Linked DNA regions of Homo sapiens: region 2 is linked to region 1. The links are contacts of gene promoters, found by promoter capture Hi-C in blood cells and fetal thymus (Javierre and others, 2016). All regions are on one chromosome and are shown on one strand. The core of a region is centred on a gene start or on the middle of the fragment in contact, and the rest is flanking DNA. Distances in the headings are between cores, read along the strand shown.

Evidence for each region. The method cuts DNA at HindIII sites, captures the fragments that hold promoters and counts their contacts. A CHiCAGO score of 5 or more calls a contact.
Region 2: a fragment that was not itself captured here is called in contact with the fragment with the promoter of CES3 in region 1 in 4 of 17 cell types (erythroblasts, megakaryocytes, non-activated CD4 T cells and 1 more); the score reaches 7.4 in erythroblasts.

Annotation. Positions count from the first base shown.
Region 1 is chr16:66,959,766-66,963,130 of GRCh38, forward strand. It overlaps CES3 (carboxylesterase 3), which reads left to right and starts at 1,501. Exons shown (of 13, transcript NM_024922.6): 1 at 1,501-1,624. The coding sequence starts at 1,543. RefSeq lists enhancers at 1,143-1,392, 1,197-1,698, 1,483-1,692. The HindIII fragment of the contact is 21,813 bases long and covers 1-1,514 here.
Region 2 is chr16:67,166,602-67,169,966 of GRCh38, forward strand. It overlaps HSF4 (heat shock transcription factor 4), which reads left to right. Exons shown (of 13, transcript NM_001374675.1): 6 at 1-21; 7 at 519-621; 8 at 874-998; 9 at 1,119-1,346; 10 at 2,230-2,335; 11 at 2,435-2,500; 12 at 2,678-2,747; 13 at 3,030-3,340. The coding sequence ends at 3,184. Among named protein-coding and RNA genes, the nearest start is that of NOL3, 2.3 kb to the right of the region's middle. RefSeq lists an enhancer at 2,994-3,043. The HindIII fragment of the contact is 307 bases long and covers 1,101-1,407 here.

The DNA.
Region 1 (3,365 bases), core at 251-2,750:
GTCTGGAGGCAGCTCTGAAAAGGAGACCCCACCCCAGGCTGCCGGGGAAGATTCAGGAAGCTGCAATGGTTTTTTATGAATTTTTTTTTAGAGAGAGAGTCTTGCTATGTTGCCCAAGCTGGCCTCAAGCTCCTGGGCTGAAGCAATCCTCCTGCCTCAGCCGCCTGAGTAGCTGGGACTACAGACTTGTGCCACAATGCCCAGCTGGCACTAGTTATTTTTGGCAGAAGGGAAGTTTCATCCTAAAGCCTGTCTCTTCAGCTCTGGGTGCCAGCTGGAGCCCCGGAAGAGGATCTGGCATCGTGTTTAGGCACAACCCTCACTCTGTCTTTCACTGGGCCAGCAAATATCTATCCATCCTCCCACCGCCTACTCCCAGCCAGCCATGTTCCTGACACTGAGGCCCAGAAGTGAGTCCTGCCCTCCCTGGGGGTGGGAGCCTCCTAAGCCAGCAGAGAGACAGATGCCCTGCAGATCCCCGCCCCGGTCAAGAGCAGGCTTCCATCAGTTCTGGTTCCCAGACTCTCCTCTCCTCAGGCTTCCATGAGTTCTGGTTCCAAGCCCCTCCCCTCCTCTCCCCTCCCCTCCCTCCCTCCCTCCCTCTCTCTCTTTCTTTCTCTCTCTATTTTTCTTTTTTCTCTTTTTGTTTCTTTCTCTTTTTCTGTCTCTTTTTCTTTCTCTCTCTCCTTTCTCTCTCTCCTTCTTTCTCTCTCTCCTTTCTTTCTTCTCTCTCTCTCTTTCTCTCTTTCTTTGTCTTGCTCTATAGCCTAGCCTAGAGTGCAGTGGCATTATCACAGCTCACTGCAGTCTCGACAACCTGGGCTCAAGTGATCCTCTCACCTCAGCCTCCCAAGTAGCTGGGACCACAGGCATGCACCATCACACCTGGCTAATTTTTTTTATTTTTTCTAGAGACGTGTCTCCCTGTGTTGCCCAGGCTGGTCTCAAACTCCTGGGCTCAAGCGATCTTCCTGCCCCATCCTCCTAAAGCACTGGGATTACAGGTATGAGCCACCACACCCAGTCCCAAGCCTCATGTTTTCACACACACACTCACACACACATGCAAACATGTACCCTCACTTCAATGCTATGAGGTGGGTCCTATTATCATCACTGTTTTATTTTCTTTCACATTTTAACATGAGATTTGGAGGGGACAAAACATCCAAACCATATCAAGCCCTCACCTCAGGCTGGGTTGCCCACTCGGAGTGGCACCCCAGGGTCACTGGCCACCACTTCCTAGGGTCAGTGATGTGGTCACCTTGGGATGAACGCACAGGATTTCATGGAGATCACCAAGTCAGGAGAGCTGGAATTTGAAAACAGTGGGACGGGGAGGGCTGTCATATCAACCAGGCCTCTGCAGGGCACTCATCTAGCCCTGCCTCTGGCTCAGCCTGAGCATGGGGCTGGCCACCAGCTAGGTGGCGCTGTCCTTGGAGGTTCTATATCACAGCCCTTTAGAGATCGGTGGTGCTGAAGGGCAGGGATCTTATTCCACCTTCTGAAGCTTCTGTCGAACCAGTTGTAAGGAGAATGGAGAGAGCAGTGAGAGTGGAGTCCGGGGTCCTGGTCGGGGTGGTCTGTCTGCTCCTGGCATGCCCTGCCACAGCCACTGGTAAGACACACCTGCTGGGCCTGCAGAGGTACTTGGTGTGGAGGAGTCAAGAGTGAGACAGGGACAGGGAGCAGTGGGCCGACCGCTCAGGAAACAGTCCTGTTTGGAGGCAGACCAGGGGTTGTGCATTCTCTCTGGGCAGGCGCTCTGCTCTTGCTGTATTTGTTTCGTTGTTTTTGTTGTTGTTGTTTGAGACAGAGTTTTGCTCTTGTTACCCAGGCTGGAGTGCAATGGCGCGATCTCGGCTCACTGCAACCTCCGCCTCCTGGATTCAAGCGATTCTCCTGCCTCAGCCTCCTGAGTAGCTGGGATTACAGGCACCTGCCACCATGGCCGGCTAATTTTTGTATTTTTAGGAGAGATGGGGTTTCACCATGTGGGCCAGGCTGGTCTCAAACTCCTGACCTCAGGTGACCCACCTGCCTCGGCCTCCCAAAGTGCTGGGATTACAGGCGTGAGCCACCGCACCTGGCCTGTCTTTATGTCTTAAGGGGGCCTGAGATTTGTTTTAATGAAGTATAGTAAGACAAGCAGATATGCAAATGACTATCATGAGGGAAGGAGTTTGCTCGTAGTTCCCTGTGAACAGGAAGCAGGCCATGCCACATAGGGCCACAGAGGGAAGCACCAGGTGGCATCAGCCAGGAGGCAGAGGGAGCAGGGGGAAAATGTGGGCAAGCCCCTTTGACACGGTTGCCACGGGAAGGAATAGGCAAGGCAGGCTAAAGAGGTTTACGATTGGCAGCAGGCTCTGGGGAAAGGGGCTGTCCCCAGCCAGCTTCCTGGTACCCGGCTCTGTGGTGATTATGGCTGGTGGATGGCAGCCAGGAGCTGAGAGCTGTATAAAGGAGGTGGTTGGGTATGGCTCTGGACTGGTTTGCCTTTGCTCCCTAGAGAGATGCCTGCCAATTCCACCTCCCCAGAGAGCTGCCTCCTATCTCTAGGAATTGTCTAGCCTGGGAGAGGCAGTCCTCCAGTCTTAGTCTGTTTGTGTTGTTGTAAAAGAATACAGGAAGCTGGGTAATTCACAAAGAAAAGAAGTTTAGTTAGGCCACAGTTCTGCAGGCCGTACAAGAAACATGGTGCCAGCTGGGCATGATGGCTCACACCTGTCGTCCCAGCACTTGGGGAGGCTGAGGTGAAAGGATTGCTTGAGCCCAGGGGTTTGAGACCAGCCTGGGCAACATAATGAGACCCCATCTCTACTTTTTAAAAAATAATTCAGGGCTGGGCATGATGGCTCATGCCTGTAATGCCAGCACTTTGGGAGCCCCAGGTGGATGGATTACTTGAGGTCAGGAGTTCGAGACCAGCCTGGCCAACATGATGAAACCCCGTCTCTACTAAAAATACAAAAATTAGCCAGGCGTTGTGGTGCACACCTGTAATCCCAGCTACTTGGGAGGCTGAGGCCCTGGAGTCGCTTGAACTCGGGAGTCAGAGGTTGCAGTGAGCCAAGATCGTGCCACTGCACTCCAGCTTGGTCAACAGAGCTAGACCCTGTCTCAAACACAAAAAATAAAAACAAAGAAATGGGCAAGTGGCTGGCCCCAAGGCACAAGGCCCTAGTGGCAGGCCCGGTCTGGCCTGGAGTGGAGTGGTAGTGACTCTCAGGCAGGCAGGGAGGAGGAAGTTGGGCGTCAACCTAAGACCAGGCTCACCGGCTTGCTGGGAAGGTTACCAAGATGCTGTGTGGTAAGTACTGAGAACAGCCTGAGGGTTTGTCTTTCACTCCTTCCCC
Region 2 (3,365 bases), core at 4-2,503, 210 kb after region 1:
TGCAGGAGGCAAGAGAAAGCTGTGAGTGAGAAAGCCAAGAAGGCCCACACCCACTTCCAAGACCCCCCAGAAGTCCCCTTGCAAGGACCCCTTCTCCTCTGGAAACTCCTTCACCGGGAATCCTCATTCCTCCCCCTGCGCTACAGGCTTCCTCACCCCATCTAGGATCCACTTCCCCCCAACTCTGCCACCTGGTATCCCCACTCCCAGATCCTCCCATTCCAGGACCTTATTCCCAAATTCCTACCCCAGCAGCCCCTTCCCCCTCCGGCAAGGCTTCCCAACAGCTGAGACCCTGGGGCTCAAACCAGGTTCCCTCCCTCCCCTCTCTACCCACAAAGGGCCCCCATCTCTAGGGGGAGCCCCTTCCACCTCCAGCATGTGACTGACACCCTAGCAACAGGCCTCAGCTCTGCTGACTTGGCTGCTGGGGCCTGAGGGAGGGAGGGAAGTGCAGGCCGAGGTGCATGGGGGCTGACCCTGCCCCACCCCTGCCTGTGCCCTGATCGACCACACAGGTCCCTGATGCTGGATGAGGGGAGCTCATGCCCAACACCTGCCAAGTTCAACACCTGCCCTCTACCTGGTGCCCTTCTGCAGGACCCCTACTTCATCCAGTCGGTAGGTTTGTCTTCTTCCCCCTTCCCAAGGGCATGGCTGGGCTTATGGAGAGCCTGTTCCTTCTCCCCATCCCCTAAAAGGAAGAGAAGATGGAAGCCAGCCTTCCCCCCAACCAGACCCAGGCCCTCCAGCATGGACTGAGCCTCCTCCCTCAAACCTTCTCCCTTAGACCTGGCCCAGGTGGGTGTTGGTGGGGTTCTGGCTCTCCCTGTGCCTACAGGCCAAGGGCTGGGCCTAGCCTTCTACTTACAGCCTCTCCCAGAGACAAATTTGGGCCTTAGCCCTCACAGGGCCAGGGGCCCCATCATCTCTGACATCCCAGAAGACTCTCCATCCCCTGAGGGGACCAGGCTTTCTCCCTCCAGTGATGGCAGGAGGTAAGGGGGACAGGGCTGCCCCTGAGGGGCCTGTGGGGGAGGGCCTGGCAGCCCAGATGGCTGTAGGGGTAGAGGGAGAAGTCAGTGCCAGGGTCTGGTTGAAGCTTTTCTCTGGTGCAGGGAGAAGGGCCTGGCACTGCTCAAAGAAGAGCCGGCCAGTCCAGGGGGGGATGGCGAGGCCGGGCTGGCCCTGGCCCCAAACGAGTGTGACTTCTGCGTGACAGCCCCCCCGCCACTGCCTGTGGCTGTGGTGCAGGCCATCCTGGAAGGGAAAGGGAGCTTCAGCCCCGAGGGGCCCAGGAATGCCCAACAGCCTGAACCAGGGGATCCCAGGGAGATACCTGACAGGTGAGCAGAGCCCCAGCTGGCCCATGAGCCCTGTGATAGAACAGCCCTTACCAGCCCACAAAGCTTCCTAGCCATTTGACTCCATGATACTCACCTGATTTCTTGGCCCCAGCATCAGAGTTCTGTGGAAAGCAGAGCCTCCCAGTCAGGGCACTCAGCATCTGCGGAAGGGCTTAGGAACCTACATATGAAATGAGTTCCCTGGGGTGACTGCAAAGTACACAATAGTTTAAGAAGCATTGGTGGCTATGAGGTGGCTCATGCATGTAATCCCAGCACTTTGGGAGGCTGAGGCGGGCAGATCACTTGAGGTCAGGAGTTCAACACCAGCCTGGCCAACATGGTGAAACCCCCCGCCTCTGCTAAAAATACAAAAATTAGCTGGGTGTGGTGGCGTTTGCCTGTAGTCCCAGCTACTCAGGAGGCTGAGGCAGGACAGTCGCTTGAACTTGGGAGGTGGAGGCTGCAGTTAGCCAAGACAGTGCCATAGTGACATAGTGGGTGACATAGTGAAACTGTCTCCAAAAAAAAGAAAAGAAAGAAAGAAGGAAAGAGAGAGAGAGAGAGAAAGAAAAAAGAAAGGAAGAAAGAAAGAAATAAAGAAAGAAGAGAAAGAAGCATGGATATTGATACTTGCATAGGGAGGGGAAGGGTCCCAAAGCCCCAGCTCCACCACCCAAACTTCAGGTCCCAGGTAGGAAGCAGAGGCACTTTCTCTGTGCCATTTATGGCAGGAGTGGGGAGGTTGGGGGTGGAGAGAGGATGGGGATCCTCTCCTATCATTTTCTAAAGATTGGGGGATTAAAATCTTGATGCATCTGGGTTCCTTGGGAACTTAATGCGGGGTGGACACTGCAGGCCAAAAGCAGTTCTGTCTGCACAGGGGGCCTCTGGGCCTGGAAAGCGGGGACAGGAGCCCAGAGAGTCTGCTGCCTCCGATGCTGCTTCAGCCCCCTCAAGAAAGTGTGGAACCTGCAGGGCCTCTAGATGTGAGTACCCCTTCTGCTGAAACAGGGGCATGAGACCTGGTGGGGTCTAGCTCTCTGTGGAGCCTGGGGAGGGCACCACTGACCCAGAGCTCTCCTCAGGTGCTGGGCCCCAGTCTCCAAGGGCGAGAATGGACCCTGATGGACTTGGACATGGAGCTGTCCTTGGTAAGAAGTGGGTCGGGGAGGGCAGAGGCCAGGGGTGGCTGAGTCAAGCCCTCTGGTCCATAGCTGTTCTCTGTGAGCCAAAGCCGTGTCTCTAGAAGAATTGTCACAGTGATTTCCCAGCTGTCCCCCTCAGCTGCTAGGTCCCCTCCCCAGCTGCTCCCTGCGGTTCTCACGCAGATGCAGCCCTTGGTTCCAGAGCGGGGTGAGCCTGAGCTGGCGGTCAAGGGGTTAAATTCTCCAAGCCCAGGTAATGGTTGTGATGACTCCTACCTGGGAGGACGCCGTGATTGGGCTGAGCTACCTTGATTGAGTGAGGGGGCAATCTGCAATTTGCAGGGAAATCCTGAGTTCAGGCTGCACTGCAGAGCGTTCCTTGAGCCACCCATGCCCTCACCATTGGGCGAGAGTGGGGAGGTTAAGAATGGATGTTTTATCCTAACTGAGCAGAAGGCAGGCGGGCAGGGCTCTCCTTCCCTGAAGAAAGGAGGGGGAACATTTCCCCTGGTGAGCGCAGTCCCACTTCTCCTAGGGAAGGACCCCACGCTCGGGGCCCCACTCCTGCTGGATGTCCAGGCGGCCTTGGGAGGCCCAGCCCTGGGCCTGCCTGGGGCTTTAACCATTTATAGCACTCCTGAGAGCCGGACTGCCTCCTACTTGGGCCCGGAAGCCAGTCCCTCCCCCTAAGACCCCGCGCCTCTGAAGGGGCTTGGAACCAGTCCGCCGCTGCACATCCTTCTTGGCTTCCTGGCGCCCCCTATCGGGGGTGAGCGAAGCCCCCACTACTAAATGGCCTCTCTCCACTACCCCGACTATCCCTGCACATAAACTCCGTTTTTTTTTTTTCTGTTTCTGGTCTCTTTTCTCT